Regions from separate parts of the Homo sapiens genome. Here all the other regions are linked to region 1. Evidence: promoter capture Hi-C in 16 types of primary human blood cells and fetal thymus (Javierre and others, 2016). All regions are on one chromosome and are shown on one strand. The core of a region is centred on a gene start or on the middle of the fragment in contact, and the rest is flanking DNA. Distances in the headings are between cores, read along the strand shown. Region 1 overlaps ASPG (asparaginase). Region 2 holds the start of ADSS1 (adenylosuccinate synthase 1). Region 3 holds the start of SIVA1 (SIVA1 apoptosis inducing factor).

What was found. The method cuts DNA at HindIII sites, captures the fragments that hold promoters and counts their contacts. A CHiCAGO score of 5 or more calls a contact.
Region 2: a contact is called between the fragment with the promoter of ADSS1 here and a fragment that was not itself captured in region 1, in 4 of 17 cell types (naive B cells, M1 macrophages, M0 macrophages and 1 more). The highest score is 9.6, in naive B cells.
Region 3: the fragment with the promoter of SIVA1 here is called in contact with a fragment that was not itself captured in region 1 in 1 of 17 cell types (M1 macrophages); the score reaches 5.2 in M1 macrophages.

The regions. Positions count from the first base shown.
Region 1 is chr14:104,086,751-104,090,308 of GRCh38, forward strand. All of the region lies in intron 1 of ASPG (asparaginase), which reads left to right. Among named protein-coding and RNA genes, the nearest start is that of ASPG, 2.8 kb to the left of the region's middle. The HindIII fragment of the contact is 178 bases long and covers 2,008-2,185 here.
Region 2 is chr14:104,722,516-104,726,344 of GRCh38, forward strand. ADSS1 (adenylosuccinate synthase 1) reads left to right here and starts at 1,714. Exons shown (of 13, transcript NM_152328.5): 1 at 1,714-1,947. The coding sequence starts at 1,756. It overlaps INF2 (inverted formin 2), which reads left to right. Exons shown (of 23, transcript NM_022489.4): 23 at 1-20. RefSeq lists a silencer at 1,521-1,930 and an enhancer at 2,761-3,461. The HindIII fragment of the contact is 19,560 bases long and covers 1-3,829 here.
Region 3 is chr14:104,750,883-104,754,478 of GRCh38, forward strand. SIVA1 (SIVA1 apoptosis inducing factor) reads left to right here and starts at 2,265. Exons shown (of 4, transcript NM_006427.4): 1 at 2,265-2,437. The coding sequence starts at 2,320. All of the region lies in intron 2 of LOC107987209 (a long non-coding RNA gene), which reads right to left. RefSeq lists enhancers at 1,291-1,380, 2,084-2,585, 2,231-2,280, 2,291-2,360 and a silencer at 1,761-2,130. The HindIII fragment of the contact is 19,431 bases long and covers 1-3,596 here.

The sequences.
Region 1 (3,558 bases), core at 847-3,346:
GCCTGCCTTTCCCTCAGGAGCCCTTTCCACTCCTCCTCCTCCCACTCCCTGCTGCCCTGGCCCCTCCCCACACTCCTGCTTGTGTCCAGCGCAGCTCTCTCTCCTGGGACGGCTGGGACCCTCTCCGGCTCTGCCAGAGCCCAGGGCCTCCCCTGGCATGACCAGAACATTCTCTTGTCCCTTGCCCATCTGCCAACCACTTCCCCGCCCCTCCTATCCCCACCCCCTCTCACGGCCTGTTCCCTGGCAGCTGCCCCTCCTGGCCACCCCTTTCTGCTGAAGTGGCTGCTCAGAAGCCACCAGCACTCTGTCGGTGCTCTCAGATTCCACCCACCACACTGTGGCCGGTGCAGACCCCTCTGGAGGCCCACTCTGCGCCCAGCCCAGGAGACAAAGCCTAGTGGGGCTCGTCCACGAGGGACTCAGGTCCCCAAGAACGTGGCTGTCCAGGCTGCCGGGAGCCTCCTCTGCACTTCTCCTTCTGCCTGTGAATGGAACAAAGTCATTCACAGCTTGGCAAACGCCCCTGTGTGACACTCCACTGACACAGAGTGACACAATTCCTGTGCTTGGCCCTCACAAGCTAGAGAGAGAGGCTGCCATTGAAGGGATGGCATGCATTAAGGAGCTAGTCCCAGGGGCAGGATCTGCCAGGGCCCTGTAGGGGCTGTGGGCTGATAACAGGGTCTGAGCTGGGTGTGTGGATGGTGTGGAGTTTGGAGGCAGCCCAGGGAGGGCTTCTCTGAGGACACAAGGCCTGCAGGACAAAGATGGGAGAGGGCCAGGCCAGGAGCAGCCCTGCAAGGTGCAGGAAAGAGGAGTGGGGAGCCCAGCAGGGCCGGAGCCTGCCAGAGCTGCCCCCGAGTGGGGACAGGACCTGGGGACTCTGTGTGGGGCCTCGTCCGACGCCCCTGACGCTACCCCTTCAGGCTTGGAGTGTGGCCAACTGCAGTTTCGTTGAGCTCAACATGTAGTTCTTGAGTGGTCCGAGCTGCAGGGGCAGGTGGACTCTGTAACCCCACCACACACCCGTCTCGCTTGGCCCCCGCGTGCTCGCCGCAGCAGCCTGTGGGTGCACTCACACGCGTGCACCGCATTTCTGAAAGAGGCTGTGAGGTCCTGTGTCTGGGTGGGAAACAAGAGACTTGGAGGCTGGAAATTGGGTGTGGGGCGTCAGTCTTCAGACCTGAAGCAGCCTTCTGAGATCCCTTGGTGCTCTGTGCACTGGGGTCCTGGCTTCTGCTCAGCAGCCCGTCCTCGTGTGGCTGCGAGGTCACCCCCAGCTGTTGCTAGCTGACCCATGTGGGGCATCCACTTCCAGGAACCTGCAGGAATGGGCTCCCCCAACCCCTCGTGAGGTTGGAGCAGCCAGACTGTCAGGCGTCAATGATTTACTCCCTCCACACTGCTGACGTGGGCTCTGGCCTTCCCTGGGGAGGTGAGAGGGGAGTGGTGGCTTTGCCCTAGTAAAGCTGTTTGATTGTCGCTGTTGGAACGGCTTCTGCGCCTGCTGGTAAACAGTGACCTGTGGGTGGAACGCTGCACACCTGGAGCCCTGCCAGAGTTCAGGGAGGGCAGAGGTGATGCCAGTGGGGACGCCCCTTGACCCATCCCTTCTCTGAGTTCATTGAAGCTATCACAGGTCAAGGGGCATAGCGAATCCAAACACGGCTGATAACCCCAAGCCCAAGCTGGCATCAGTGGCCACGTTCTGTACACCCGAGAAACTTGAAGACTTCCTATGTCAAACTGGGAACCCCACCTGCTTGCCGGCCTGTCCCAAAGTCCCTCCTGAGCCCGGCTCCTTGCAGGCACAGCAGGGAGGGCAGAGATCTGGGGCCAGGCAGCTGAGAGAAGCTCCCTGCCCGGTGACCACACGGGTCCCAGCAGTCGAGAGTGTCAGTGGAGTGATGCCCATGGCTTCTTGGTTACTGCAGTGGCGTCTGTGCCCTTGGCCTGGACCTCCTTCCTGAATGGGTGCTACACGTTCACAAGTTTCTAAGCCTAAGCTTGACTTCGCTGGTGACAGTGGGGCCCATTGTCTTAGAGAGCAAAGCCTCCTTTCCAGGTGTTTGGCAGGGGGCTGAGGAGTTTCCAAGTCACCAGCAAACTCAGGCACCTGCCTGGATGGGCCAAGGAAGAGGTTCCAGGCAGGGCTGGAGGGTTCAGATTCTGCAGCCCTTGAAGCTTTTGGAGGGCCCTCATTGAGAAAAGTAATACAAGTTACAAAATCATAGTTAGGTGTGAAAGCCGGTGTTTGTTTATTTTTTATTTATTTTTATTTTTTTGAGATGGAGTCTCACTCTGTCGCCCAGACTGGAGTGCAGTGGCGCGATCTCAGCTCACTGCAAGCTCTGCCTCCCGGGTTCACACCATTCTCCTGCCTCAGCCTCCCGAGTAGCTGGGACTACAGGCGCCCGCCACCGTGCCCGGCTGAAAGCTGGTGTTTATTTAAAATAACAAAAGAAATTGCCCCAGCTGACTGGGCGCGGTGGCTCACACCTGTAATCCCAGCACTTTGGGAGGCTGAGGTGGGTGGATCACTTGAGATCGGGAGTTCAAGACCAGCCATGGACAACATGGTGAAACCCTGTCTCTACTAAAAATACAAAAAAAAAATTAGCCAGATGTGGTGGCAGATGCCTGTGGTCCCAGCTACTGGGGAGGCTGAGGCATGAGAATCGCTTGAACCCAGGAGGTGGAGGTTGCAGTGAGCCGAGATCTCGCCACTGCACTCCAGCCTGAGTGACAGAGTGAGACCCTGTCTCAAACAAACAAAAAAAACTGATGCCACTACATACCTGTTAGAATGGCTGCTGACGTACAACACATTGACTGCGGGGTGAGTGCTGGAGCCCCAGAGTTGGAAAGTGGTCCACTCGCAGGTTGGTAAGAAAACTTTACTGGCGACAGTATAGGTTTGAAAAAGGAACGTTTGGCCAGACATGGTGGCTCAGGCCTGTAATTCCAACACTTTGGGAGGCCAAGGCGGGTGGTTCACTTGCCTTGCTAACATGGCGAAACCCCGTCTCTACTAAAAATAAAAAATTAGCTAGGTGTGGTGGTGCATGCCTGTAATCCCGGCTACTCGGGAGGCTAAGGCAGGAGAATTGCTTGAGCCGGGTGGGTGGAGGTTGCAGTGAGTCGAGATGGCATCACTGTACTCCAGCCTGGGCAACAGAGTGAGACTCTGCCTCAAAAAAAAAAAAAAAAAAAAAAAAAAAGGAAGAAAGGAGAAGAAAAAGAAAAAAGAAAGAAATTGGCCAGGCTGGTTTTGAACTCCTGGGCTCAAATGATCTTCCTGCATCAGCCTCCCAAAATTCTGGGATTACAGGTGTGAGCCATAAAAACCACTGCAAAAGCACATATGGAGTGTTTTGCTTGAGAGAAGAGGACACCAAGAGAGTTTAGTCTTGTCTTTGGCTGATTTCGCCTGTGGTGCCCACACATGCCCCCAGCAGGGACAGCAGGGCCCATATCCACGCCTACCACTCTGCAGCATTCCTGGAAGTTTCTGGAAGCTGTTCCCCCACATGAGTCAGCAGCAGCTGGAGGTGA
Region 2 (3,829 bases), core at 464-2,963, 640 kb after region 1:
AACAAACCTCCATGACGCTCTTGGTTTCTCCTGTTGCAGTCTGCCTCTTCCCTACCTGCACAGCTCTCTGCTGTGCCCCAAATTCCCTCCTTGACACCCCCAGACCCACTGCCCCACCCTCAGGTGCAGCCCCTTCTCAGCAGGCTCCAGGTTCTGCCAAATCTCAGAGCCCTCCAACCCTGCTCCAGCCCCTTCCCAAGCTGGGGCCGGTGGTCTGTTCACCCCCGACCAGCTGTCACCCCCAAGGTGGCACTAGGAAGTTCATGCATGAAGACTGCTTTTCCACTGAGGCCCCACTGACTGCTTGGAACCCATACAACGGCATTTTCCCCGCAAGGATGCTGAGGGAGAGGAAGTGTCGATGTGCCCAGTGGAAGAAGAGGGGACTGGGGACATGGGTGCAGGGGGCAGGAGGCCAGGCTTCAAACAGCCCCTCTCCCCCAGGCTGGGGCACGGTCAGGTGCCAAGAGAGGAGGGGTGGGGAGGCTGCAGGCAGGGGTGGGCAGTGGTGTCCTTGGCTGCACCTGAATCACTAACTCAGTGTGAGCGACCTTTGCTGTGACAGGCCCAAGCTCCACTCCTTCCTCACAGGGAGTGTCCCGTCTCCATGGACTCCCTGTCACTAGCCTTGGAGTTGCCCTGAGCCCAAGGGGCCTCGTGGCTCCAGGCTCTTTGGCAACTGAGAGCCGTCAGGGAGGGAACAAAGGACCCCGCCTCCCTGCTCTGAAGCAAGAACCTGATTCTCTTTTCCGCCCTTGGGGCCCCAGGACCCTTCTCTTGGCCACCAGGGCTGGCTTCCTCCAAGCCTCATCTACTTGGGAGGGGTGGGGCGGGATGGGTGAGACAGGACAACCAGCCGGGAACACGGGAGCCTCGCAGACCATCGCCTCCCTCTGGGGCCTAGTCCCTCCACAGGCTGGGCCGGGAAGGTCTGGTGTGGGACCTCTTGGGAACCTGGGCCCCACGGTGGCGTGCATCCCTGGGGGTTGCTCCCATGCCAGCCAGGTGACGCTGACAGGATGGGTCCCTTTACCCCAGACTTGGGTGCTGAGGGCCGGAGCTCCATGCTGGAGCCCGCCTGCTCGCTACAGCCAGGCCCGAGCCACAGCGCGCCCGGGCGGGACGCGGGGCCCCTGCCGTGGGGCAGAAGTGCGGGCAGTTGCGGGGACACAAAGTCCTCGGAGAGGACGCGCTGCGCGGCTCTTCGCGGCCGCCAGGGGGCGCGCCCGCGCCCAGGGCACTCGGGGTTCCACGGGGGGCAGGTGCGCTCCTCGAGAGTGCGGACCCTCTAGGTGGGGTGCAGGACGCAGCTCCCCTTTTGCAAACCGCACTCCTTCCCTGGAGGGAACGACCACCCCTGCAGTTGCTGGAACCCCGAAGTCCTGGGCCCGGCAAGGGCTTGGTGGGGGGTGAGGTCGCGGTGCACAAGCCCTGGTCCCCGACGGGCTAGCGAGAAACTGCCTCCGTTGGCAAATTCGTGGGGGCGGCTCCCCAGGCCATCTGCCTGCCTGGCCGTTGGTCCGTGCGGCCCCTCACCCCTAAAGTGCTCGAGACTCAACTGGGCTTCCCGGGCAGCGGCGAGGGGGCGGGGATGTGGCGGCCGGAGGTCACCGGGGCGTCACTGCGCCCGCCCTGGCCCTCCCCCGGCCCGCCCCCTGCCCCGCCCCCTGCCCCGGCCCGGCTCCATTTAATGGCGCGGACGCCGGCGGCGGCGGGCTCCTGGCCGGGCCAGCGCAGCGGAAGAGCCAAGCCAGCATGTCGGGGACCCGAGCCTCCAACGACCGGCCCCCCGGCGCAGGCGGCGTCAAGCGGGGGCGGCTGCAGCAGGAGGCGGCGGCGACCGGCTCCCGCGTGACGGTGGTGCTGGGCGCGCAGTGGGGGGACGAGGGCAAAGGCAAGGTGGTGGACCTGCTGGCCACGGACGCCGACATCATCAGCCGCTGCCAGGTGCGGGCTGGGGCGCCGGGTCCCTCCCCCACCGCCCAGCGAGCCCCCCTCCCCCGACCCAGACGGCCCCTGTCCTCCCATGCCCTGGCCGGTCACTCACCCGCTTGGATGCCTTCCTTCCGGGAGCACCTTTCCCAGGGCCACCCCACCCACGCACGCACACGCACCACTCACACAACCCCCGACCCACACACACCGCCCTCCTTCCACCCACCCCTACTCCACCACCCCGGCAGCGGGCCAGGGCACAGCTATAAATACAAGTCGCTGAGTTGGGGACACCCGATCCTTAGGGGGTGGCGCATGCCATGGGTGTGACGCTGGACCCTCCATGGGGGAACCAGAGGACCCAGCCCCAGGATGGTTTGAGGACCCCCAAGACACCCCCCTTCCTCATTTACAGTGATCACCTGGGGCCTGTCTGGGTCTGGGATAGGGCTTACCTGGCTCCCCGCAAGGTCTGCAGGTGGTGGAGGGGGTAAAAGCTGCCTGCTGGGTGGGGGTGACCCCGGTGAGTCAGCCAAGGAGAGGCAGAGGTGGAAGGGGGCCAGGCCGTCCTGGGGGGCAATTGGGGCCGCGCCTGAGGGAGGGTGCTTGGGACGATCCTAGCCAGACATGGGAGAGGGAGGGCCACAGACTTCTGGCCAGGGTGACCCCGTGGCTGGCAGTGCCACCGAGGAGGCCAGACCTGCTTTGTCCCCCAGGGCCCAGGGCTGGGCCTCTGCCAGCCGGCAGCTGCTCTCAGCGCCCCCATCTGTTCTGACTGAGCTGCACACTGGGCACTCTCTCGGGCCGCCACCCTGGGGCTACATGCCCCATGCCAGGGCAGCCAAGTCTGCTGCCCATGGGCTGACTTACAGCTCCAGGCACAAAGGGGTCAACTTTGGGATGCACGCGTCTGGGGTTTGGAGCCTGCCTGGGGCTGCTGCCAATAATGGAACAAGGGCCCCCGCACCGTCCCTTCTCCGGGTTCTGTGGCCTCCTTCCTGAGCTCCAGAGAGGAGGGCTGGGGCCCAAGACGAAGGGAGTCAGCCCAGCACCCTGTGTGGCTCAGGGCTGTCCGAGCCCCTCCTGCCGGAAGGGACTGTGGCTTCCTAGAAAGTTCTTCCTGGAACAGTGGGGGACCTCCCCCCTTGCTCTCCGTCCTAAGCAGCAGGCAAGCACATCCCTCGCTCCAGAGATCCCCCAGGTCCTAGAGGTGGTCCTCAGCCCATGCTCCCTCCACACTGCCTCTGCCCCGCCACCTTGTCCTGGGCCGCCAGGGGGCATGTCCAGCGCTCTACTGCTCTTCACCCTCCAGGGCGCCCTCAGCGTGGGGCAGCCCCGGCCCCTGACCCTCCTTAGACCTCTCTGCTCCCGTGAGGCCCAGGCCCCTCCCTATGAGCTGCCAGCTCTGGTGGGCGCCATGCACTTCTGCAGGGCGGGCTGGGGCCCCCACAGGTGCTGTACACAGCATTCACCTGGCTCCGCGCTCCCAGCTGTGGAGATGGTTCTGGATCTGGGCACTCCCTGCTGTGCCCCCCACCCAGTCCCCCCACAGCCCCGCTCACTCGCAGCTGCACACGGGAGCACGGAGGATGCAGCAGGCTGGAGCCCATCCCGCACTCCGGCCACCAGGCTGCCCCCGCCAGGCCACCCCCACCAGGCCACCCTATAGCCTGAGGGAGCCCCTGGCTCTCCAAGTGAGTGGGAATAAAAGAGGTTTGTCCCTGGAGCCCACACCTGTCCCCCTGCAGCCTCCTCACGAGCCAGTGAGGCAGGATCATCCTGAAGAGCTCCTTCACAGGGGAACAGAGGCTCAGGCGTGGAGGAATGAGTCACTGCCACATTTGGAGCCCTCACTGGTGCCACGTGCCCACCATGATAGCCCAGGGCCTGGCCC
Region 3 (3,596 bases), core at 1,015-3,514, 660 kb after region 1:
TATCCTGCTGATTGGTCCATTTTACAGAGGGCTGGTCTGTTTTACAGAAAGCTGATTGGTCCGTCTTGACAGGGCGCTGATTGGTGTGTTTACAATCCCTGAGCTAGACACAGAAGTTCTCCAAGTCCCCACAGAGCACTGATTGGTGCATTTACAAACCTTGAGCTAGATACAGGGTGCTGATTGGTGTCTTTACAAACCTTGAGCTAGACACAGAGTGCTGATTGGTGTATTTACAGTCCCTTAGCTAGACATAAAGGTTCTCCAAGTCCCCACCAGATTAGCTAGATACAGAGTGCTGATTGGTACATTTACAAACCTTGAGCTAAACACAGAGTGCTGACTGGTGCGTCCACAATCCCACAGCTAGACATAAAGGTTCTCCAAATCCCCACCAGATTAGCTGGATACAGAGTGCCCATGGGTGCATCTACAAACCTTGAGCTAGACACAGGGTACCGATTGGTGAGTTTACAAACCTTGAGCTAAACACAGTGCTGATTGGTGTATTTACAATCCCTTAGCTTGACATAAAGGTTCTCCAAGTCGCCGCTAGACTCAGGAGCCCAGCTGGCTTCACCTAGTGGATCCCACACCGGGGCTGCAGGTGGAGCTGCCCGCCAGTCCCGCGCCGTGCGCCCGCACTCCTCAGCCCTTGGGCGGTCGATGGGACCGGGTGCCGCGGAGCAGGGGGCCGCGCAAGAGCCCACGGCAGGGGGGAGACTCAGGCATGGCGGGCTGCAGGTCCTGAGCCCTGCCTCGCGGGGAGGCAGCTGAGGCCCGGTGAGAATTCGAGCGCAGCGCCGGCGGGCCGGCACTGGTGGGGGACCCGGCGCATCCTCCGCAGCTGCTGGCCCGGGTGCTAAGCTCCTCACTGCCTGGGGCCGGTGGCTCCGATTGCGGGGCCCGCCGAGCCCACGCCCACCCGGAACTCACGCTGACCCGCAAGCGCCACGTGCAGCCCGGGTTCCCGCCCGCACCTCTCCCTCCACACCTCCCTGCAAGCTGAGGGAGCCGGCTCCGGCCGCGGCCAGCCCAGAGAGGGGCTCCCACAGTGCAGCGGCGGGCTGAAGGGCCCCTCGAGCGCGGCCAGAGTGGGCGCCGAGAGCGAGCGAGGGCTGCCAGCACGCTGTCATCTCTCACAGGGCGAAGCCCACGCCACAGGACGGGTCGGTTCTGTACCCGCCGGGGCAGGGGAGAGCCGCCTCTGGTGAGCAGAACCCCGGAGAAGGGACGACGCGGGTGCACCTCGCGGCATGGGGACACCAAGTCAGACGAACCCGCTGTGCAAGAACATTTTCCACACAGCGGCGCATACCCCCGCCCGGGGGCGCTCGGCAGCCGCACGCGGCCCTCAGAGCGCAGCCCCCACACGCCTTTACTTCTGGAAGGCGGAGACCGCCACAGTGAGGAGCTAAGCCAGCTGAGGCAACACAGAAAAACCCCCGTTCCTACCCAAAACCAAAAAGCGGGGCGCGGAGGCGCGCGCCTGCGGTCCCAGCTACCGGGGAGGCCGAGAAGGGAGGATCGCCTGAGCCCGGGAGGCGCAAGCTACAGTGAGCCGAGACTGCCACTGCACTCAGTCTGGGTGACAGAGCGAGACCCTGTCTCTAAAGGGGAAAAAAGAGCTAGGAAGAAGCGGGCTGCCTCTTAACTTCGGAGAAGTAAATGAGGAACTATAACCAGTGTCTACCGTTTAGGAACCAAACAAAAGCTGACAGGAATCCCGCCACCGACCCAGCCGCCCCAGACTTTGCCCTGGCCTATCCCGCGCCGCTCCTCAAACTAGACCCGCCCCGACGTCGCCCTGGCCTATCCCACGCCGATCCTCAAACGAGGCCCGCCCCCGATGCACAAGCTCCGCCCTCGTTGCACCGTCCTGACCCTCGGCCTCGCCCCCGCCCCCTGGCTCTTCCCGCGCAGCCGAATGCCGCGACCTGGCTCCCACCCTTCGTCGCTTCGCGCCGCATAGGAACCCCGCCCCTAGTCTCTCCTCCCGCCTATCCTGAGCGGCGCGCGCACAAATCTCTCCCACGGACCCGCCCACCCTGATCCTCAACCTGGCCCCTGGCCTTTCCCGCGGCGTCGAGTCCAGTACACCGACGCACGAGTCCCACCCCCGATCTCTCCCTCGGCCTATCCCGCGCCGCTCCGCGCAGGAGTCCCGCCTCCCACTTCGCCCGCAGCCTATGACGCGCCGCGTCGCTCCCTCTCCTCAAACCCGCTCTCGCCCGCGGATGGGCGCGCAGCTGTGACGTCACGGCGTCGTTGGTAAGGGGCTGGCGGCCGGGGAGCTGCGTAGCTCCCGGCCCCGCGGCCATGCCCAAGCGGAGCTGCCCCTTCGCGGACGTGGCCCCGCTACAGCTCAAGGTCCGCGTGAGCCAGAGGGAGTTGAGCCGCGGCGTGTGCGCCGAGCGCTACTCGCAGGAGGTCTTCGGTGAGTGTCGGGCGGGCTGCCGAGGGTCCGCTGCGTCGGGGCCTGGAACGGGCCGGGCCTCAGCGTCCCCTCTGAGGCCTGAGCGGGGGGCTGGAGGGCCCTGCTTTCTGGCCCCGCGTTCCCGGAAGCTGGGAGGCCGCGGGGACACAAGCTGGCCACGCCCAGGGCTGGGGTCAGTGAGGGGGATGTGAGGACCCCAGCGTTCGCCCACCCTGTCCAACAGCCTGAAAGAAAAGGGTCCCTGCCCCTAGCCCCCGCGCCCTCTTCCACGATCCCGGTTAGTCGCCGCCCTGCAGTGAGCGGCACCCGCCTGGTGCTTTCTCAGGACTGTCCCGTGCAGGATGTCCTGGGAGAGGTTGGGGAGCGGGGCGTCCTGCATGGAGTCAACCCGAAGAGTGCCCCTCCTGTCCCAAGAGGTATTCATGGAGCGCGCGGCCCTGCCAGGCACGGCGGCTTTCTCGGGAGACCAAAGGCAGGCAAGACAGATGTGCCCCGTCTCCCGGGAGCTCCCCAGCCTAGTTGGGGAGACCAGCAGGAGGAGTCGCCACAGGTGGTCGGGGCAGGCACAGGTTTGTGCAGGCGCACCTGCAGGGATGGCACGGAAGGCTTCTTGGAAGAACAGTCTGAGCGGAATCCTGTGGGGGCGAGTAGGAGTTAGCCAGGCAGAGGAAGGGAAGGAAGAGGGCGAGGCAGAAGCCAGGCAGCAGGAGAGCGAAATAGGACTCCGTGTGGCTGCAGTGTCCAGTTCTGGGTGGGATGTGAGGGCAGTGAGCTCCCAGGCCTTCTCTGGCTTTCTCCTGTGGATTTCAGGCGTGTTGATCTTATTGATCATCACTCTGACTGGGGTGATTAATACCCTGGGGCAGGTAAAAAGTGGAGCTTACCTTGCCTAGTGATTGGGACACAAAGTCTGCACCTGTAGAGCAGTTAGAGGATGACCCGGGGTGTGTGATTTACCTGGTGCCGCTTGTGCCTTGGGAATGAGGGAAAGACTCTGCCTCCCGAGGTTCCTCTGTGCGGTGTCTCCAGTGTGCTAGGGCTGTGAAAGCGAGTGCTATTCTGGGCCATGGGGAGGTAAGGGGAATGATGCCGTGGGAACTGTGGCAGGACCGCAATCGTGTGCCCTCTCAGGACAGTTGAAAAATTCAAACACTGTGCA